2 separate regions of the Homo sapiens genome follow, and region 2 is linked to region 1. The links are contacts of gene promoters, found by promoter capture Hi-C in human tissues and cell types (Jung and others, 2019). All regions are on one chromosome and are shown on one strand. Each heading gives the region's core, a stretch centred on a gene start or on the middle of the fragment in contact. The rest is flanking DNA. Distances are from core to core; before and after follow the strand shown. Region 1 holds the start of ZNF621 (zinc finger protein 621). Region 2 has its middle 11 kb from the start of ENTPD3.

Region 1 (2,900 bases), core at 232-2,731:
CAGCACTTTGGGAAGCCGAAGCGGGTGGATCACCTGAGCTCAGGAGTTCAAGACCAGCCTGGCCAACGTGGTGTAAACCCCGTCTCTACTAAAAATACAAAAATTAGCCACACGTGGCGGCGCACATCTGTAATCCCAGCTACTTAGGAGGCTGAGGTATGGGAATCACTTGAACCCAGGAGGCAGAGGCTGCAGTGAGCCGATATCATAGTGCCACTACACTCCAGCTTGGGCGACAGAGTGAGACTCCGTCTCACAAAAAATGAGTCTGATTTCAGTAGGTGACTTTCATTTCTAGAACACGATCTGGATTTCCACATTCAGAAAGAATTTCTTGGTATAGGTCCCCTTTCTTCCATTTAAATCTATACATCCAAACTCATCACTCTCTATACACAAAACTTTCATTTCCCCAGCACATATTTACATCTGCCATAGCCCTGGAGATAGATACAAAGGGGAAAACACAGCTTGGCCAAGTTAGGCCTTCCTCATCCTTTCCTGATTATCTGATAGCTAATGTGAGTAAAAAAACATAAACAAACAAACAAAAAAACTGAAAGAAGCTCAGCTCACCTGAGGCCAAGTTGTTTGGAGCATGGCGGATGTCCCCTGGCTTCATGCACTGTCTTCTGGGTTTGGACAAGCAAGATCCTCAAGAGCTAAGAGAAAAAGAGCCATGAGTGCTAAGGACCCTGTCGTCCACCACCTACAGCAACCTATGGCCCTCCCAGTTTCCACATTTCCAGCACTGGATGCACGGAGATTCTACTAGGACTCCCTCTAATTGTTCTCACGCTGATAGCCCCAAACTTCTTATGAATTGTTCTGCCTAGTCTTCAGGACAATCTTCCACCTGCCTGCTCAGTCCGAAGAGCTTTTTTTGAGCCCATTCGTACGGGTAAACTGAGGGACCCAAGAGCCCTGTCCCTATTGTGTTGGGTCTCTACAAACGTAAAGAGTCTTTACAGAATGCTTACAGGGACGATGACGTGGACCCAAAAGAAAGAACCTCAGGAGAAGAGGGACTGGGGTGGCTGAATGCGGATTAAGGGTAAAATACTCAGCGTCCCAGTGGGTGATGCTGACCGGAGACCCCACCCAACCGTGATCTTAACACTCCACCCAAGAAAACAGGCAACCCCAAACATCAGAAACGTCAGTACCGGGAGCCAGAGGCTGTCAGGGCAAGTTCTTTAGGGCAGAAAAGAGGATCAGGCCTCGGTGGCAAAGGGCTGGACACGGGCTCTAGAAGCCCGAGCAGCCACCTTGACGGCTTCGGCGAGGCCCAGATGCCCACGGTCCGGGTGAAGGAGGGGCGGGCCGCCATTGGGACCAAGTTCAGGGGTAGTGGGGGCTGACGAGCCGCCAGGGGCAGCGAGGAAGCCGGCACCGGGCGGACCTGGCACGTAGAACTCGCTGAAACCCACGCTCTGCAGAACGCCGAGGAGCTGGTCACTAACTAAAGGCCGAGCCGGAAGGGCGAGTGCACGCCCAGGGTCCCTCTAGGCCCCCGGAGGCCGCCATCTCGGTCGCCCCGTGGCCAGACCCGCCCCGCCTTTCATGGCTGGCCCCGCCCTGCGGAAGAGGCGAGGTTGCGGCGACCGGCTGGGCTGAGAGGCCGGCGGCGGGCGTGGAACTGTGGCGCTCTAAGCCCGGCTTTCTCCGGCAGCCGTCGGCATCGCCTCTGGCTGGAGTGTCACGGACTGATACAGCCTGGCTCTACCGAGACCTCGCCCTCTAGGCACAAGTGGGCCCCCAGTTCACGGGCTGCGCCTCAGCTGTTGGCCGCCTTGGCCCCGTGGCTCACCTGAAGCCTGGGCCGTGCAGGTGAGGGGAGAATGGCGCCTGCTTTGTCATCTCTAAGAGGCCCAAGCCCAGGATCTTGCTTGGGTCCTCAGCTGGGCAGTCCTCAGGGAAACCATGGTTTCCACTCGCCGTTTTAGCCCTCTCCCTTCCAAGGACCTAGATGTGCGTAGAACCTTTTAGGACAGATTCATTTAACAACCAAAACACCCGTGGCTACATACAGTTGCTAGGCATCCTGTATACACAGGACATGTCCTATATTAAATGATCTTGTCCTGTGTTGACTTTGGGAGGACACCCTAAATGTCTTATATTTAGCTTTTTCCAATAAATTACAAAAACTCGTAGTTACAGCTATTTTTCTGCTCAGTAACTGGCACTTAAATAAAATGTTAACACCAGCTGAAATATATATATCTCATACTTCCATAAATAATGATCTGGACAGACCTTTATGGTCTGTTCTGTTAGTTGGACTGCAGGAAGAAAAAACAGTGAAGAGGGGAGGCTGCTAATTAAAAGAACTTACTTTTCATATTCAGGAAAGGAAAAGACTGTTTTTTGACCAAAGTCCCAAGTCACTAACAAGTACTTGCCATTAATTTACATAATTTTAGATCAGTACACGTACTCTGAAAATCAACCAGTACACAACAGCCTCACTCCAAGCTTCTGAACATGAGCCAGTCAGTGATAAACACTTCCCGAAGCCAGCCAGTGGCAGCTCTACCCAGCTCATTGGCAAGTACCTCACTACTGTGCCCTTCCTTCTGGACAGGAGCCTTTCTCCAGTATCAAAGTGGTTGCTAAGATGGACAGACTTTGTTTTTTTTTTTTTTGCTTGTTTTTTGTTTGTTTGTTTTTTTGAGACGGAGTCTCGCTCTGTCGCCCAGGCTGGAGTGCAATGGCGCAATCTCGGCTCACTGCAAGCTCTGCCTTCTGGGTTCACGCCATTCTCCTTCCTCAGCCTCCCGAGTAGCTGGGACTACAGGCACCCCGCCACCACGCCCAGCTAATTTTTTGTATTTTTAGTAGAGACGGGTTTTCACCGTGTTAGCCAGGATGGTGTCGATCTCCTGACCTTGTGATCC
Region 2 (2,967 bases), core at 251-2,750, 150 kb after region 1:
GTAAGTGCGTGAATTTATTTCTGTGTTCCCTATTTTGTTTCATTGGCCTATGTGTCTATTTTTAATGCCAGTACCAGGCTGTTTTGATTATTATAGCTTTGCAGTATATTTTGAAATCAGGTCATGTGATGCCACCAGCTTTGTTCTTTTTGCTTAAAATTGCTTTGGGTGTTCAAAGTCTTTTGTGGTGCCATACAAATATTTTTATTATTGTTTTTTTCTATTTCTGTGAAGAGTATCATTGATATTTTGATAGGGATTGCATTGAATCTATAGATTGCTTTGTATAGTATGGACATTTTAACAATGTTAGCTTTTCAAATCCATGAACATGTGATATCTTTCCATTTATTTGTGTCTTCTTCAGTTTCTTTTACTAATGTTTTTCAGTTTTCATTGTATAAAACTTTCACTTCCTTAATTAAGATTATTCCTAGGCTTGCTTTCTCTTTCTTTCTTTCTTTCTTTCTTTCTTTCTTTCTTTCTTTCTTTCTTTCCTTCCTTCCTTCCTTCCTTCCTTCCTCTCTTTCTTCTTTCTTTCTTTCTTTCTCTCTCTCTCTCTCCCTCCCTCCCTCCCTCCCTCTCTCTCTCTCTCTCTCTCTCTCTCCCTCCCTCCCTCCCTCTCTCTCTCTCTCTCTCCCTCTCTCTCTCTCTCTCTCCCTCCCTCCCTTCCTTCCTTACTTCCTTCTCTTGCTTTCTTCTCTGACAGAGTCTCACTCTATCACCCAGGCTGGAGTACAGTGGCACAATCTCAGGTCACTGCAACCTCCACCTTTTGATTTCAAGTGATTCTCCTTCTCAGCCTCCCGAGTAGTTGGGATTACAGGCACCCACCATGACACTCGGCTAATTTTTGTATTTTTAGTAGAGATGGGTTTTCGCCATGTTGACCAGGCTGGTCTTGAACTCCTGACCTCAGATGATCTGCCACCTTGGCCTCCCAAAGTGTTGGGATTACAGGCCTGAGCCCCTTTCTTCCTTCCTTCCTTCCTTCCTTCCTTCCTCCCTCCCTCCCCTCCCCTCCCTTCCCTTCCCTTCCCTTTCCTTCCTTCCTTCCTTCCTTCCTTCCTTCCTTCCTTCCTTCCTTCCTTCCTCCCTTCCTTCCTTCCTTCCCTCCCGCCTGCCTTTCTCTTCTTCTCTTTGGTAGCTTTTGTAAGTGGGATTGCTTCTCGATTTCTTTTTCTGAAAGTTCACTATTGGTGTATTGAAATGCTACTAATTTTTGTATGTTTATTTTATATCATGCAACTTTACTGAATTTGTTTATTAGTTTCAACAGTTTTTTGTGAAGTTTTTAGGGTTTTCTATGTATAAAATTATGTTGTCCACAAACAGGAATAATTTGTCTTCCTCCTTTCCAATTTGGTTGCCCTTTATTTTTTTCTCTTGCCTAACTGATCTGTAGAACTTTCAGTGCTATGTTGAATGAAATTGTTGAAAGTGAGCATTCTTGTCTTTTTTTAGATCTCATAAGAAAAGCTTTCAACTTTTCCCTGTTAAGTATGATGTTAGCTGTGAGTTTGTCATATATGGCCTTTGCTGTGTTGAGGCACATTCCTTCTATACCTAGATTGTAGAGAGTTTTTATCATGAAATGATATCAAATTTTATCAAATGCTTTTTTGTGTGTTTATTGAAATGATCGTATGGTTTATGTCTTTGATTCTGTTAGTGTGGTGTGTCATGCTTATTGATTTACATATGTTGAACCATCTTTGCATCCCTGGGATGAGTCTTCCTCGATCATGGGGAATGATCTTTTTTTTTTTTTATTATACTTTAAGTTTTAGGGTACATGTGCACAACGTGCAGGTTTAGTTACGTATGTATACAGGTGAATGATCTTTTAAATGTGATGTTGAATTGGTTTGCCAGCGTTTTGTTGAAAATTTTAACATCTATGTTGATCAGAGGTATTGGCCTGTAGTTTTCTTTTTTGTTGTTGTTTCGCTCTGGTTTTCATACCAGGGTAATGCTGGCCTCATAGAATGAGTTTGGAAGAATTCGCTCTTTAATTTTTTGGAATAGTTTGGGAATAATTGGTATTAGTTCTTTAAATGTTTGGTAGAATTCAGCAGTAAAACCATCAGGTCCTGGACTTTTCTTTGATGAAAAACTTTTTATTATTCAATCTTGTTACTTGTTATTGGTCTGTTCAGGCTTCTTCCCATTCTTTGCCATTTTACTTAGTTTTTACCATTTTTTACAATGAACCCCTTTGGCAGTCTGGTTAAGCTGATAGATGTTCTCAAAACATGTTATTAAATATATAAAATGAAACAGAATTACACAGGAATTCTTTATATTAAATTCATTTCAAAATGTTTTAAAAATTGTATTAGTCTGTTCTCACTCTGTTAATAAAGACATACCCAAGACTGGGTAATTTATTTAAAAACAGAAGTTTAATGGACTCATAGTTCCACATGGTGGGGGAGGCCTCACAATCATGACTGAAGGTGAATGAGGAGCAAAATCATATCTGACATGGCAGCAGGCAAGAGAGCATGTGCAGGGGAATGCTCCTTTATAAAACCATTAGATCTCATGAGATTTGTTCACTATCATGAGAACAGCATGGGAAAAATCCGCCCCCATGATTCAGTTACTTCCCACTGGGTCCCTCCCATGACACATGGGGATTATGGGAGCTATAATTCAAGATGAGATTTGGGTGGAGACACAGCCAAACCATATCAAAAATCAAATTTGTGGTTTAACATATATATATACATATATATATGTGTGTGTGTATATATATATATATATATATATATATATATATATATATATATATGCTTCTTTATTAAATCATTACATAATGAGATCCAGAAGCAGGTCTAACTTCCACTCTCATTTTAAAGTGTGATGAACATAAAGAATATTTAAAGACATCCATCACAACTATAATGTGACATGAAAACATGTGTGATTTCTATTGGAGACAATGGCATAGGTCTTGCTAAT

The links. Contacts are between HindIII fragments. The study calls those that stand out against the background at their distance.
Region 2: a fragment that was not itself captured here is called in contact with the fragment with the promoter of ZNF621 in region 1 in 1 of the 25 tissues and cell types used here (pancreas).

The regions. Positions count from the first base shown.
Region 1 is chr3:40,523,541-40,526,440 of GRCh38, reverse strand. It overlaps ZNF621 (zinc finger protein 621), which reads right to left and starts at 1,481. Exons shown (of 5, transcript NM_198484.5): 1 at 1,167-1,481; 2 at 577-662. The coding sequence starts at 600. RefSeq lists enhancers at 1,000-1,139, 699-1,511, 1,790-1,879 and a silencer at 1,440-1,599. The HindIII fragment of the contact is 18,179 bases long and covers 1-2,900 here.
Region 2 is chr3:40,375,153-40,378,119 of GRCh38, reverse strand. No RefSeq gene overlaps it. Among named protein-coding and RNA genes, the nearest start is that of ENTPD3, 11 kb to the left of the region's middle. The HindIII fragment of the contact is 8,863 bases long and covers 1-2,967 here.